Linked DNA regions of Homo sapiens: all the other regions are linked to region 1. The links are contacts of gene promoters, found by promoter capture Hi-C in blood cells and fetal thymus (Javierre and others, 2016). All regions are on one chromosome and are shown on one strand. The core of a region is centred on a gene start or on the middle of the fragment in contact, and the rest is flanking DNA. Distances in the headings are between cores, read along the strand shown.

Region 1 (2,861 bases), core at 20-2,519:
ATCACTTCAGGTCAGGAGTTTGAGACCAGCCTGGCTAACATGATGAAACCCCATCTCTACTAAAAATATAAAAATTAGCCGGGCGTGGTGGCAGGCGCCTATAATCCCAGCTACTCGGGAGGCTGAGGCAGGAGAATAGCTTGAACCCAGGAGGCGGAGGTTGCAGTGAGCTAAGATCACGCCCTCCAGCCTGGGCGACAGAACGAGAGACTGTCTCAAAGTATATTAGCAAATTTAATCCACAAACAAAGTGGATACAGTATAAGCAAGTGGTTTTATCCCAGAAATTAATGTAACTTATTACATTAATAGATTAAAGGGAAGAACCATTTGACAAAATTCAACACCTATTATTGGAGGAAAAAAAACCTGCAACAAACTAGAAATACAACAGAACTTCCTCCATGTGCTGGGCAGAGATTCTCTACCTGAACATGATGGGGATTTTGCCCAGAAAATTCTTTGCTGGGGTGGGGAGAGGCTGTGCTGTGCATCCTAGAATGCTTGGCAGTGTTCCTAGCCTTCACCCTCAAGATGCCAGCATCAACGCTCCCCACTCAGCTGTTTGTGACAATGAAAAATGTCACATGACAGGCCAAGTGCAGTGGCTCACGCCTGTAATACCAGCACTTTGGGAGGCCGAGGTGGGCGGATCATGAGGTCAGGAGATCGAGACCATCCTGGCTAACATGGTGAAACCCTGTCTCTACTAAAAATACAAAAAATTAGCCAGGCGTGGTGGCGGGCGCCTGTAGTCCCAGCTACTCAGGAGGCTGAGGCAGGAGAATGGCGTGAACCCGGGAGGCGGAGTTTGCAGTGAGCCGAGATCACGCCACTGCACTCCAGCCTGAGTGATAGAGCGAGACTCAGTCTCAAAAAAAAAAAAAAAAAAAAAAAAAAAAAAGTCATATGACATTACCAAATGTCCCTGGAAGAGGTGGGAAATCACCCTCGGTTGAGAATCATTCATTGTGTTAAGGATATTAACAACAATGACAAAAGCTACAGCTAACATCATACTAAATGATGAAATACTGAATACTTTCCCCAATACTGAAAACAGGGAAGGGAAATCCCTTTACACCACTTCTGTTCAACACTATAGTGAAGTTCCTAGCCAGTGAAAGAAGGCAAGAAAAAGATATAAAAAGCATAGAAACTGGCTAGGAAGAAGTAAAACTGTCTTTATTCACAGATGTCATAAGCATGTAATTAGGAAATCCTAGGGAATCTACAAAAATAAAAAGCTACTAGAATAAGTGCACTTAGGAAAGTCACAAAAATAAAAGCCAATATACAAAAATAATCACATTTCTGCATACTAGCAACAAACCATAGTTAAGTGAAATTTTAAAAACAAAACCATTTACAATAGCCTCAAAAATCAAATGCTAAGACTATATTTAACAAAAGATATTCAAAAATCTCTATACTGAAAACTACAAGGTATTTTTGAGAGAAAAACCTAAATAAATGGAAATATTTGTTTATGAATTCAAAGAATTGGTGTAGGCCGGGCGTGGTGGCTCACGCCTGTAATCCCAGCACTTCGGGAGGCCGAGGTGGGTGGATTACTTGAGCTCAGCAGTTTGAGACCAGCCTGGCCAACATGGTGAAACCCTGTCTCTACTAAAAATACAAAAAAATTAGCTGGGCATGGTGGTACACACCTGTAATCCCAGCTACTCAGGAGGCTGAGGTAGGAGAATCGCTTGAGCCTGCGAGGCAGAGGCTGCAGTGAGCCGAGATCGCACCACTGCACTCCTGCATGGGTAACAGAGTAAGACTCTGTCTCAAAAAACAAGATATCAGTTCTCCCCAAATTGATCTACAGATTCAACACAATGGCAATTCAGATCTCAGCCAGGTTTGTTGAGGAATTGACAAGCTGATTCTAAAATGTACATGAAAATGCAAAGGACCGGCCGGGTGTAGTGGCTTATGCCGGTCATCCCAGCACTTTGGGAGGCCAAGGCAGGAGGATCACCTGAGGTCAGGAGTTTGAGACCAGCCTGGCCAACATGAGGAAACCCCATCTCTACTAAAAAATAATTAGCCAGGCGTGGTATCGGGTGCCTGTAATTTCACTTAGGAGGCTGAGGCAGGAGAATTGCTTGAACTCAGTAGGCAGGGAGGTTGCAATGACCTGAGATCACACCACTGCACTCCAGCCTGGGCAATGGAGCAAGACTCCATCTCAAAAAAAAAAAAAAAAAAAAAATGCAAAAGACCTAAAGTAGTCCAAACAATCTTGAGAAAGAACACGTTGGAGACTCATACTATCGAATTTCAAGATTTACTATAAAGCTACAGTAGTCAGGGCAGTGTTATATTAGCCTAAAGATAAACCAAAAGATCAATAGAACAGAACAGAAATCCACCTATACACATATGACCAATTGATGTTCAGTAAAGATATCACAGCAATTCAATGGGTAAGGGAAAGTCTTTTTAACAAACAGGGCTAGAACTACTGTATAGCCATATAGAAAAATATAAACATATTCCTGCCACATACCATACCCCCACCCCAAATTAACAGGAACCAAAGACCTAAATTCAAAAGCCAAAACTAGAAACTTCCGGAAGAAAACATAGAATATCTTTATGACCTCGGGCTTAGCAAAGATGTTCTATATTAAATGTAACAGGCCAGACACAAATGTCTATGTATTGTGTGAATCTATTATCTATGAAACCCAAGAACAGGTCAGACTTATATGTAGTGATGGAAATCAGTCATTGCTTCTGGGGTGAAGAGAAAGGAACCCAAAGTAACTCTCTGGAGTGACGGAAATTGGGGCATTGGTGACAGGGGTCATTTGTCAAAACTCATTAAAGTATACATTTAGTATCTGTGC
Region 2 (2,700 bases), core at 41-2,540, 280 kb before region 1:
TTGGGGAGGGGAGATGTCTGGGACAAAAGAATAAGGAGCGCTTAGGGGGCAGAATCTAACCCAGATTTTGCTGCCCTCAAAGGTCCTCTTTTTTATTGTTGTTGTTGTTTTTTAGACGGAGTCTCACTTTGTCGCCCTGACTGGAGGGCAGTGGTGCAATTTTGGCTCACTGCAACCTCCACCTCCCAGGTTCAAGCGATTCTCCTGCCTCAGCCTCCCGAGTAGCTGGGATTACAGGTGCCCACCACCACGCCTGCCTAATTTTGTATTTTTAGTAGAGACGGGATTTCACCATGTTGGCCAGGCTGTTCTCGAACTCCTGACCTCAAGTGATCGGCCTGCCTTGGCCTCCCAAAGTGCTGGGATTACAGGCATGAGCCACCACGCCCGGTCTCAAAGGTCCTCTTTAGGCCTCAATTTTAACTTAATTTCTTTTTCCCAAGGATAGAAGGTAGAATTTCATTTCTCACAAAGAAATGAAGTTCAGTCCACGCCATTTCTCTGACCCCTGTCGATACCCCCGCGTCTCTCTCCTAAGCCCCACCTCTGGACACGCCCCAACCGAATGTCTCTCTTACCCCAGACGGGCCTGGCTTTCCTCTGGGGTGAGTTGGTCGAATTCCTTGGCCACTTCCCGTCCCAGGAAAGCCTCATGGTCGTACTGGAAGTTCCCGTGGGCGTCATCATGGGGAGCGTCGCTCAGGGGGGCCGCCTGGTGCACCCTCCCCTGGCCATGAGGGCCTGCGTCTGGGGATGGCTTCCCCTGGGCCCCGTGCCTCAGTAGCAACAGAAGCAGCAGAACTGATGGTCGCCACATCATCGGTCCCTGGGGAGTGGCAAAGGCCAGGGGTCAGGGGTCACAGGGATGGGGACAGACACGGGATAGGAGAATGGCGGGGTGGAGGGGTTACCTAGGACAGGACAGGGAGTTGGAAGTTGGCTGCAAGCTTTCGGGCTCAAAAAGGGCGGGCGATGGGGGAAAAGAGGGCGGGATGCTTAGAGGTAAAGCCACCTATGGGGAGGACCGAATCTTCTGACGGAGTCTCAGGGGGGTCCCAGACCTGCCAGGGGGAATTACAGAGACAGACGTGGCGCACATCCCACGCAAGGTGCAGGGCATAGTTGTGGCCAGCGAGAGGTCAGGCAGGCTCCCCGTCATTGCTCCCAGTCCGGACCCTGGTCCTCGACCCGAGCCGCCCTCCCTGGACAGAGGCCCCCCACCCACTCCCTTTACCCTGTTATCCAGCTTCGCTCCGCTCTCCACGCTCCGCTCTGCGTTCCCGCAAATGTGCCCAATTCGGCCGCTCTCCAGTCAGGCCCCGCCTCTGGCAGCGCAGAGCCCCGCCCCCCGCCCAATGAGCTCGCACGAGCGTCTCACGGGGCGGGGCCAATGAGTGCACGGGGTGCCGCGGGCACTCCTCGCCACGTCCACAAAGGAAACCGCGGCCTGCCCGGGGAAGAAGGGTGGGCGACACCGCAGTGACGCGGCCGGGGAGAACTACAACTCCTGGCAGTCGTCGCGGCACTCTGCCGTCCACCTCCAGCTGTTCTAGTCACAACGCCTCACGGGAAATGTATTTTTCCCTTTCCCTTTGTCAGGATGGTTTAAGAAAGAGGTGTACGTTCCAACACTTCTATACCAAACAAAACAAAACAAAACAAAAATAAACAAAAAGAACGAAAGAAAAGAAAAAAGGCCGGGCGCGGTGGCTCACGCCTGTAATCCCAGAACTTTGGGAGGCCGAGGCGGGCGGATCGCCTGAGGTCGGGAGTTCGAGACCAGCCTGATCAACACGGAGAAACCCCATCTCTACTAAACATACAAAATTAGCCGGGTGTGGTGGCGCATGTCTTTAATCCCAGCTACTTTGGGAGGCTGAGGCAGGAGAATTGCTTGAACCTGGGAGGCGGAGGTTGTGGTGAGCCGAGATCGCACCATTGCATTCCAGCCTGGGCAACAAGAGCGAAACTCCGTCTCAAAAAAAAAAAGAAAGAAAAGAAAAGAAAAGAAAAGGGAGAGCAGAATCAAGGGGCCGGAGGAAATATCCCATTTCCTCCAAGAGTGAACACTGCTCCTCGCTCCTCTTCGGCTCCAAGGATTCAGGTGGTCAGACAGTAGCCAAGAATTCCTCAAAATGCCTGGCATGGCAGTCATCCAGTAAATATTTGTAAAAGTTATGAATTAAAAATACATGACCTCAGGTTGAGCACAGTAGCTCAATGCCTGTAATCCCAGAACTTTGGGAAGCTGAGGCAGGTGGATCACCTGAGGTCAGGAGTTCCAGACCAGCCTGACCAACATGGTGAAACCCCGTCTCTACTAAATACAAAAAATTAGCCGGGTGTGGTGGTGCATGCCTGTAATCCCAGCTACTTGGGAGGCAGGAGAATTGCTTGAACCTGGGAGGCGGAGGTTGCAGTGAGCTGAGATCACGCAATTGTACTCCAGTCTGAGCAACAAGAGCAAAACTCTGTCTTAAAAAAAAAAAAAAAAAGTGACCTTAGGCCGGGCGCGGTGGCTCACACTTGTAATCCCACCCCTTTGGGAGGCAGAGGCGGGTGGATCATGAGGTCAGGAGATCGAGACCATCCTGGCTAACATGGTGAAACCCCGTCTGTACTAAAAATACAAAAAATTAGCCAGGCATGGTGGCAGGCGCCTGTAGTCCCAGCTACTCGGGAGCCTGAGGCAGGAGAATG
Region 3 (2,751 bases), core at 15-2,514, 430 kb before region 1:
CCAGCTCTCCCAAGCTAGCGGGGATGCCTATAAGAAGAAAGGTGCTGAGGGGGTTTCCCACTCGGGCCTATTTCTCAATACCACTGAAAACTACCGCCAGACAACCCCAGCCCCAGAGGGCTTGAAACGCAAGACTGAAACCTCCCCCACATGGCTGCACGAGAACCAAACCTCACTCGAAACCATTTCAGGCACCCACTCTCAGGACCCCAGGGCTCAGGACCCTGCACAGGGCTTCAGGAAGAAGGAGGTCATCTCGCACCCTCACAAAGACCCGGGGGAGATAAACGGCTCCAGTAGGGTAAAGCTCTCAGCCTACATATTTCCCACAACTCCTTCCCAGCGGACATACCCTCCTCCCTCCGCCCGCCAGGAAGAAATCCGAGGGGAGGTGGGCTTCAGGACACGCCCCATGAAAAAGATGTCCCTCCCACACACCCAGAAATGGCCACAAGGGGGTGCACGGCGCCTATTAATGGGAAAATCTCTATCTAGATGCCCCACCACCACCCAGAGGGAGGTCACAGGGGCATGCCCCATCCCCCAACTCCTAAAGCCCTGGGCGAGGGGGAGAATTCTGGGAGGGGAAACGGGGTCGGCGGGGGACCCCATTCTTGGTTTTCCTCCAGTCCCTAACCCAGAACGCACAAAACCGGGTCCGATATCCCAACAGATGCCCCCGGAGCTCGGAAGGAGGTTGGTAAAGGGCTGAGAAGCACTGCTCCTCCCAAGAGACTCCCCACATCGTGGAGGGCCCCAGGTCGATCACACCCCACGGCGTGTGCCCAGGTCCCCGGGGAGGAGGGCTGGGGGCGTCAGGAGGGTCGGACCCCCTCCCCGCCCCCCTGGGCGCCCCTCCCCGGCCGGGGGCGGGGCCTTTGTCCCGCACGTGGAGCCCGCCGGGCCACTGGACTCGGCACACCCCCTCCCCACCCACCGCGCAGCGGCCACGTGGGGGCCTGGCCGGAAGCGCCCCCAGCCCTCCTCCACGTGGGAGGGGGGATAAGACCCTCCGCTAGGCCGGATGCCGAAGGCCCTTGGAAGCTAGGGAGCCGTCACCTCAAACGATATCCCCGGATGTGGAACGTGCGGCGCCCCCGTGTGCGGCGGGGGACCTCCAACCCCATATCGCCAACTTAGAGCCCTTTCCCCACCACAGAGGCGTGAAACACCGACCCAAAGCCGCCTCCCGCCCACGGCGGCGCTCCAAGCGCTCACCTCCATGATGCAGTTCGCGGCCTCGGCTGCCGCCATCTTCACCCGCACCTACTCCTCCTCCGGCCGCCAAGACCCCCCCTTTCTCCTCACTCCCCCGGGACCGCCTTATACCAGAGGGTCCACGGCCCGCCTACCGCGACCCCGCTGGAAGATTTCATTGGCAATGGAGGCGGCCCGTCTGAGAATACCGTCTAGTAATTGGCTAGAGAATACGTCCATCATAGGTCAGGGGTTTGCCAACTCTGGCGTCCAGAATCCCGCCCCCTCAAGTCGACCCGGGATGGGGAAAACTGCCCGTCTATTGCAAGAAGCGCGACTGGTGATTGGGCAAAATCCACCAGGAATGCCCTCCCCTTTACACCCAGCACCGCCTCAAAGCTTCCCGGGGAGCCCCGCGCTAAAGGGGCGTCTTGAAACACCTGTCCATCACCAAAACGACCCGCCTCCTAATCGCTGCCATTGGTTTATCCGGAAGCGACGTCACGCAGCCTTTGGCCCACCCTCGCCAAGCGGCCGGCCTCAAGGAGAACACGGCAATTGGCCCACGGGTAGGGAAGAAGGCGGGGCTTCAGGCACCAACGATTGGCTCAAAGGAATTATCACTCCTCGTCCACTCGGTGGATCCTCCCAACCCGGGGGGAGTCTGGAGGAAAAAGGGAGCTTGTGCTCATTACCTGGGGGAAAAACGGAATCGGTGAGAGGCCCAGAGAGAGGAAGGGCATAGCTGGGGTCCCGAAGCAAGTGAGGAATAGGAGTCCGTCGTCAACACATTAAATCCCTAGCCCTTGACATAATCATTCCAAGTTTTTTAAAACCATCAACCCCTCTCAAGCCACTTGGTTTTTGCCAAGTCCCTCCCCCTGCCAGGAACGCCCACCTCTCTTTGTCTGGTCAGCTTCTAAACGTGAATCAGAGCACAGCTTAGGCACCACTTCCTCCGGGAAGCTTTCCTTGATTTGCAGAAAAAGTTCCTAGTTGAATGAAGCTGAATGCAAAGGGCCGAATGCGTGGGTCCTGCCCCTCCTCTCCCCGATCCCTCTACTTCCCTCTGCTCACACTTCTCTCCAATCCCGGAATGAGCTCGCTCTTTGGTTTCTGGGCCTCCGCGCAGGCTATACTCTCTGGCGTGCCGCTGGCAAACGCCTGAGACTTAAAATTTACAATAGGGTTCGGGCGCGATGGCTCACGGGTGTAATTCCAGCACTTTAGGAGGCGGAGGCAGGCGGATCACTTGACATCAGGAGTTCGAGACCAGTCTGGGCAACATGGTGAAACCCCCATTTCTATTAAAAATACAAAAATTACGCCAGGCGGCCGGGCGCGGTGGCTCACGCCTGTAATCCCAGCATTTTGGGAGACCGAGGCGGGCGGATCACAAGGTCAGGAGGTCGAGACCATCCTGGCTAACATGGTGAAACCCCCGTCTCTACTAAAAATACAAAAAATTAGCCGGGCGTGGAGGCTTAGGCAGGAGGATGGCGTGAACCCGGGAGGCGGAGCTTGCAGTGAGCTGAGATCGCGCCACTGCACTCC

The links. The method cuts DNA at HindIII sites, captures the fragments that hold promoters and counts their contacts. A CHiCAGO score of 5 or more calls a contact.
Region 2: a contact is called between the fragment with the promoter of RCN3 here and a fragment that was not itself captured in region 1, in 1 of 17 cell types (naive B cells). The highest score is 6.2, in naive B cells.
Region 3: a contact is called between the fragment with the promoter of PRMT1 here and a fragment that was not itself captured in region 1, in 1 of 17 cell types (total CD4 T cells). The highest score is 5.1, in total CD4 T cells.

The regions. Positions count from the first base shown.
Region 1 is chr19:49,246,072-49,248,932 of GRCh38, reverse strand. The region is part of intron 2 of LOC107985340 (a long non-coding RNA gene); the gene reads right to left. Among named protein-coding and RNA genes, the nearest start is that of MIR4324, 61 kb to the left of the region's middle. The HindIII fragment of the contact is 8,311 bases long and covers 1-2,861 here.
Region 2 is chr19:49,526,593-49,529,292 of GRCh38, reverse strand. It overlaps RCN3 (reticulocalbin 3), which reads right to left and starts at 1,290. Exons shown (of 7, transcript NM_020650.3): 1 at 1,235-1,290; 2 at 579-826. The coding sequence starts at 820. RefSeq lists a silencer at 1,213-1,332 and an enhancer at 796-1,374. The HindIII fragment of the contact is 8,718 bases long and covers 950-2,700 here.
Region 3 is chr19:49,675,784-49,678,534 of GRCh38, reverse strand. PRMT1 (protein arginine methyltransferase 1) reads right to left here and starts at 1,264. Exons shown (of 11, transcript NM_001536.6): 1 at 1,219-1,264. The coding sequence starts at 1,254. RefSeq lists a silencer at 770-1,049 and enhancers at 894-1,625, 1,630-1,779. The HindIII fragment of the contact is 22,690 bases long and covers 1-1,598 here.